Linked DNA regions of Homo sapiens: region 2 is linked to region 1. The links are contacts of gene promoters, found by promoter capture Hi-C in blood cells and fetal thymus (Javierre and others, 2016). All regions are on one chromosome and are shown on one strand. Each heading gives the region's core, a stretch centred on a gene start or on the middle of the fragment in contact. The rest is flanking DNA. Distances are from core to core; before and after follow the strand shown.

Region 1 (3,417 bases), core at 867-3,366:
CGGGCTAATTTTATTTTTTATTTTTATTTTTGAGACGGAATCTCGCTCTGTTGCCCAGACTGGAGTGCAGTGGCGTGATCTCGGCTCACTGCAACCTCTGTCTCCCGGGTTCAATCAATTCTCTTTCTCAGCCTCCCGAGTAGCTGAGTTTACAGGCGCCCGCCACCACGCCCGGTTTTTTTTTTTGTATTTTTAGTAGAGACGGGGTTTCACCATCTTGGCCAGACTGGTCTTGAACTCCTGACCTTGTGGTCCACCTGCCATGGCCTCCCAAAGTCCTGGGATTACAGGCGTGAGCCACTGCGCCCGACCTATTTTTTATTTTTATTTTTGTAGAGATGGGGATCTCATTATGTTGCCCAGGCTGATCTTGAATTCCTGGCCTCAAGGGATTGTCATGCCTTGGCCTCCCAAAGTGTTGGGATTACAGGCATGAGCCACTGCACTGGGCCAGGAGCTAGGGTTTGAAGAGGGAGTTGGGGGTCACAGTGAGGAAAGCTGAGCATGCAAAGGGGAGGTTGAGGGCCTGATAAGTTGAGTGTGGGAAGGCATGAGGTAGTATCCTAAGGAGTGTTGGGGGTCTGAGGAAAGGGTGACTGTTAGAGTGGGAATTCCAAGTCCAGGGAAGGGAGGTGGGAGTGGGGTTAGCAAGCGGTGGGAGGAGGTTGGAGGTGAGCTTCCCTCTCCTGATTCCCCCCAAACCCATCTTCCACCAGGCCTGGAGAGGGAGCAGGCAGGCACTCACAGACAGGCATGTCGTTGCAGCAGTCCGTGAGACCTGTGTGCCAGTCACTGAGCTGGGTCTGGTAGCAGCTGGTGGTGGCGCACTGGGGCTGACTGGTCACAGGGTAGGACATAGCTGCAGAGGTGGGAGGGTAGGGGTCAGCTGGCAGCCTCGCAGCATCTCCTGGGCCCCGCACTTCGGCCACCCTTCCCTGTGCCGGGCAGTCTGGGCGGGGCCGCCAGGCCGCCCACTGAAGGGACACCACTGTGCCTCCCCCTTCCCTTCTGCTACATCTGGGCACCGGCAACCCCAGTCTGTCCCTGTTGCTGCTGGCTCCTGCACGTCTGGTTAGGCTGGGGGTGGGGGTCTCCTGCACATCTGAGGAAGGGTGGGGACCACATCTGGGTGGGGCCTGGCGGTGCCGCCTCCTCCTCCACGTCTGGGCCTGGGTTCTGGGTTGCAGCATTTCTGGGGCCTCTGGGGTGGAAGCAGGCGCCGTCTGTCTTCGAAGCAAGGGTGCCCAGGGGAGGGAGGCGGCCAGGTTCCAGTACTGAGAGGGTTGCTGGTCCACCCAGCGGTCCCACCTTTGCCTTTCACGTTGTCGTGCATCTCAAACTGCATCTTGCTGGCCCTGAGGAGGTGGCGTTGGGGACGGCAGAAGTGGCTGTGGCAACAGTGGCAGAGTCTGTCCAAGGGACGCTGGATACTGGGGAGGTGGGGGCAAGGGACTGGGGCACTGGGGGCTGGGCTCTCAGGGGGAGGGGAGCTGGGGAGAAAGAGGCCAAGTCAGCCTGTCAACCAGGAGAGACATGGAATAGGGAATGGATAGGGCGGGGGCGAGAAACTCGCCCATGTCTTTCCAACTGCCCGACAGATTGCAGAGGACCCTCCCCATACCCGAGATAGAGCTTGAGGGAGAACAAGAAATGGAGATGGACAGAGTCAGAGACAAGGGGAGAAAGATCAGAGCCAGGTGCCCGTAGAGATGTCACCAGTAATGCCCACATGTGCCCAGCACTTTGACTCCTCTGCAAGCCCATCTCACAGATGAGCACTGAGGCTCAGAGACATGAGGAGGAACGCCCCACGTCTGACGGCCCAGGCCAAGGGGGTTCATAGAGGTGATGCTGGGCCCCAAGACTTCTAAATTCAGCTCAGCACACCCCAGTTAAGAAGGACAGATTTGGGGGCATTGGGAAGGACAGAGATGTCCCGAGAGACCGACAATCAGCGATATGAAAGGAGACAGAGTGATATGAGTGGGATGAGGAGGAGGGAGAACAGAGCAGAGGCGCCCAACCTCAAAGAAGAGGGCTGCGGAGGGGATGTTCCTACCTGCAGGATCGCGATGGCAGTGATGGAGGCAGACGTGTGGAGACACGGGCACTGACTTCTCCGTCTCAGCCCAGAGCCACTTATATGGGCGGCCACGCAGCCCTGGGCGGGGCTCTGACAGAGGTGCCCAGGGAGCCAAGCCGGTCTGATCGACCCTCTCCCCACACTGGGATTTCCCGCCCTCCCTCTCCACTCCCATCCCCCCACTTCTCCTCCTGCCTCAGCTCCCAGGACCCAGGGAAAAGAAGGTGGCGGGGGGTGGGAGGTTTGGCGGGGGCGGGGGGCCACAGCCGGGTCAATGCGCAGAGACCAAAAGAGAGGGAGAGACAGAAACACAGTGTCAGAAAGGCAGGCAGGGAAGTCCCTCTAGACAGAAAGGAGAGAGAGGAGATTCAGAGAGATGGAGAGACGCAGGAAGATGTAGAGAGATGGAGAGGTGCCAAGAAACAGAGGGGCACAAAAATGTGAAAAGAAATAACAAGAAGAGGGGAGATGGGCCAGGCATGGTGGCTCTCGCCTGTAATCCCAACCCTGTAATCGCCTGAGGTGAGAGGATCGCTTGAGCCCAGGAGTTGAAGACCAGCCTGGGCAACATAGGGATACCCCATCTCTACAAAAAATACAAATAGAATTAGCCGGGCATGGTGGCATGTGCCTGTAGTCCCAGCTACTTGAGAGGCTGAGGCAGGAGGATCGCTTGAGTCCAGAAGTTTGAGGCTGCAGTGAGCCGTGTTCCCGCCACTACACTCCGGCCTCAGTGACAGAGCAAGACCCTGTCTTAAAAAAAAAAAAGGAAAGAAAAGGGGAGATGGGAGACAGAAGAGAGACGGAGATGGAAAAGTGGAGAGGCAGGTGGGGGGATCACTGAACAGGCTTAGAGGGCAGGGAAATGGGGAGAGGTGATGGGTGGGGAGAGAAAAAGGCCGGGTGGAGTGGGAGAGAGTGCTGTGTGGGACTCCCCTTTCAGGGTCTCGCTCATCTCTCTCAGTGATATCCCCACTTTCCTGGGAGAGGGGGACAGTGTCCTCCCCATTCAAGCCAGGAGACACATGGGGGGCAGTGTGTTTTGGGGAATGACTCATGTTGGAACCAAAGTAAATAAACACACCTCACCCCAGCTCCAAATTGGGAAGGGAGGAGGCTGGGAACTGAAAAGCCGCAGTTCCTGAAGGACGTGGACGTCACCTGGGACTCCTGGGTCCTAATGGAGCAAAGGAGTGGGGGCTTGGACCCCTGGGTCTGAGGGAGGAGGGGCTGGGGCCCTGGACTCCTGCGTCTCATGAGGCCAGGCTGCACATCCCTCAGTAGGGTAGGGGTCCTGGGATTCCACACTGCTGGGCTCCTGAGCAGGGAAGGAG
Region 2 (3,517 bases), core at 471-2,970, 530 kb before region 1:
ATCCCAGCATTTTGGGAGGCCAACGCAGGTGGATCACCTGAGGTCAGGAGTTCGAGACCAGCCTGGCCAACGTGGTGAAAACCCGTCTCTATAAAAATACAAAAATTAGCCAGGTGTGGTGGCAGGCACCTGTAATCCCAGCTACCTGGGAGCCTGAGGCCGGAGAATCGCTTGAACCCGGGAGGTGGAGGTTGCAGTGAACCAAGATCACATCATTGCACTCCCGCCTGGGCGACAAAGCGAGACTCCAACTCAAAAAAAATTAAATAATAATTACTTAAATTATAAAAAGTGAATATAAATTACCCAAGTACCTGGAGATTTCCAGTTAGACATGCATATATTACCCACTTTGAATACATATGGAAATATGTATGTGTTGGTTCTGGAAAAACAATTGAGATAATGAAAATATTTTCTCAAGTTTTAGAAACAGTATGAGATAGGTTTCAACAACATTCTACATGAATGTAAAACCTTGATTTAAATATATGATCTTATGCTAGAAGCATGGTTGGTTTTAATTTTTCTAACAGATACGAGTCTTGGCTTATTAATAATTAACACATTTTGCAGCCACAGTATCAGTGTGGGGTAAAATTCTAATATTTGCTCTTATGTTTTAAATTCTCAGTCTTTCCAACATAAGAAAATAGCTACACACATTTCAGTGTTTCCTTTTTGCAACAAGTTAACATAATTTTATTGGACCACGTTATTTAGTTGTTGGGCCTTGTAAGGATTAAATGAGATCATGCATGTAACACTACAGTAACAGCCACATGATAAATGTCCAAATAATATTTACCTGTGCCTGGCACAGAGCAGGCACTCAAAAAATATTTTTTAGAGCATGTGACGCGCCATGAACCAGAGGAGCCACTTTAAATGGACAAACGGGGATCTCATTTTTTTTTTTTTTTTTTAATGGTGAGACAAGCCCTGAGAAGGCAAATGGACTGCCTAAAGCTACACAGGTCAGCGGGGCAGGTAAATCTAAATTGGCAAAGTAAGGGCTGAGCGAACAGACTCCGACACTAGAAGGCAGAGCTGAACTAACTTCTGCTAAGGTCCCGCCTCTGCCGCTTTGTCCCGCCCTTATCTTCTCCCCTCCTCCAGCGCCTCATTCCCTTTTCGCTCGCCCCGGCCGTGCTGAAGCAACTTCCGCCCTGAGAAGGGTGGGGCTTCCGTCTCCCGCTCTCGCGACTCCTGGCGGTGAAGGACGGAAGATGATAGCCACATTTCTTCCTCGCCCTTCCCCTAGGTTCCCTGTCACAGTTCCGCCCTTACTACTCCCACTTCCGGCCAGGGAACAGCCACTTCCACCCGGAAAAGGGGTTGTTCCGCCGTGGGGCGCCAGCTGTGGCCCACCCATCCTGCCCCGTACTTTCGCCATCATAGTATTCTCCACCACTGTTCCTTCCAGCCACGAACGACGCAAACGAAGCCAAGTTCCCCCAGCTCCGAACAGGAGCTCTCTATCCTCTCTCTATTACACTCCGGGAGAAGGAAACGCGGGAGGAAACCCAGGCCTCCACGCGCGACCCCTTGGCCCTCCCCTTTACCTCTCCACCCCTCACTAGACACCCTCCCCTCTAGGCGGGGACGAACTTTCGCCCTGAGAGAGGCGGAGCCTCAGCGTCTACCCTCGCTCTCGCGAGCTTTCGGAACTCTCGCGAGACCCTACGCCCGACTTGTGCGCCCGGGAAACCCCGTCGTTCCCTTTCCCCTGGCTGGCAGCGCGGAGGCCGCACGGTAAGCGGGGGCTCCGAGCTGGACCGGGCGCGAGGCGGCAGGGCCGGACGCCGAAGCCTCAGAGCGCGTGCCTGAGGGCCCCGAGGCGCCCGGCGCGGGCCCGTCCCGCCCCCTAGAGCCGCGGCCACGTGCGAGCGGCAGGCCCGGACATGCCCGGTCAGCGCCGTCCGGGAACCGAGCGTGGGCCCCGGGGGGCAGCGGCGGGGTGCGTGGGGCGTCCGGAGTCCCGGGGCTGGGGAGTGGGGTCGCGCAGGATCCTCACACGCAGGGGCCGGGCTCTGTTAGTGCGATCCAGAGAGGCCGTGGGCGTCGGTGAGCTCCTTCAGACCCGCAGGAGCCGGAGCCCGGCGTTGAAGGGGCCGTGGGAAGTAACGGGGGGTACCACGGTTTAGGATGCGCTGGAGCGAAAGGATTGGGGTGGGGTCCGTGCTCTTGGCAGTCGTCTCTGCCAGGCCTGTGTTCACATGCTTGACTTTCTCCCTCAGATGCCTGGAGTTACTGTAAAAGACGTGAACCAGCAGGAGTTCGTCAGAGCTCTGGCAGCCTTCCTCAAAAAGTGAGTTTGGGGACTGAGGTTCAAAACGGGTGGAGGCTGTCGCCTTGGCCTGCCCATCTGAGCCCCAGTGTTTGCCGGTCCCTGGCAGGCGAGGCTTGTTTGGGGCCTCCGTGGCTCCTTTCAGCGTGAGGCCTGGCTTGTGTTCCGGTTCCAGCCTCTCTTTGTACTCTGGGCACAGCATAGTTGTGTTGAGGGGAGGGCATTTGGGATATGGGGTAGTTTGTGGAGATGACTGAATCGTGCTTTTCCCACTGTTTTGGTCTTAGGTCCGGGAAGCTGAAAGTCCCCGAATGGGTGGATACCGTCAAGCTGGCCAAGCACAAAGAGCTTGCTCCCTACGATGAGAACTGGTTCTACACGCGAGCTGGTGAGGAACTTAGGTCTTTGGCTGGAGAGTGGGGAGCTGGGTGACCCCTGGCACAAACCATACTTCCCTGTCTCCTCTGAGCTCTTTCCCGCCCCAAGAGGGAGAGAAACCCTTGGTTGTGTCACCACTTGCTTTGTGTGATGTGACATTCGATAACTTGGTACTCCAAGTTTTTATGACATTCTAAGAGCTTTGTGAGAGGAGGACCTGTGGCTTTGAGCCTCAGGGGAAACCAGAGACAGATGAATGTTCATATTTTGCTTACAGGTGGTTTAATCCTTTCTATATACACGGAGGCAGACTCCCTGGGTTTGGATCCATCTTTTACATCTGGCTGTGTGTCCTCTGGCAAGTTGGTTAACCTGCCTGTGCACTCTCTCATCCCCAAAATGGGACTAATTATTGTACCAGTACTAGAGTATTGCAAGGATTGAATGAATTTAAAGCAGAGTGTTTAGAACGTGTCTGTTGCACAGTAGTTATTCAGGAAAAAGCCAGTTGTCTTTACTATTGCTCAGATCATCAAGTTAGCCTTCTCCATATCTCTAACAGGCTGTTTCTAACTAAATGGTTGGAGATCTGGCCAGGTCAGTCCCTGCTTTAAATCTTGACTTCTGATCTTATGGACACCCTGCAACCTCGTGCCAGCCCCGTCTCTTTTCAATCTTCCAATAATAATTTATGTACAGTCCCTGACTAGTGTTAGTTCTCACGTGTCTTAATATTTCAGTACTCACTAAATCTTCACTTTCAGGAAGATGTAACAGGGTGGGCGGTGGCAGTGCCGTGTTATGTCAAGGTGACAGCCTTAGCACCGACCTTCACTAAGGGGCCTCGGC

What was found. Contacts are between HindIII fragments. The CHiCAGO score rates a contact against its expected background, and 5 or more counts as called.
Region 2: the fragment with the promoter of RPS19 here is called in contact with the fragment with the promoter of CNFN in region 1 in 3 of 17 cell types (naive B cells, total B cells and naive CD4 T cells); the score reaches 8.9 in naive B cells.

What each region holds. Positions count from the first base shown.
Region 1 is chr19:42,388,181-42,391,597 of GRCh38, forward strand. CNFN (cornifelin) reads right to left here and starts at 2,117. Exons shown (of 4, transcript NM_032488.4): 1 at 2,060-2,117; 2 at 746-859. The coding sequence starts at 857. The HindIII fragment of the contact is 9,287 bases long and covers 1-3,417 here.
Region 2 is chr19:41,858,535-41,862,051 of GRCh38, forward strand. It overlaps RPS19 (ribosomal protein S19), which reads left to right and starts at 1,721. Exons shown (of 6, transcript NM_001022.4): 1 at 1,721-1,755; 2 at 2,241-2,311; 3 at 2,578-2,678. The coding sequence starts at 2,241. RefSeq lists an enhancer at 1,424-2,179 and silencers at 1,733-1,862, 1,923-2,042. The HindIII fragment of the contact is 18,374 bases long and covers 1-3,517 here.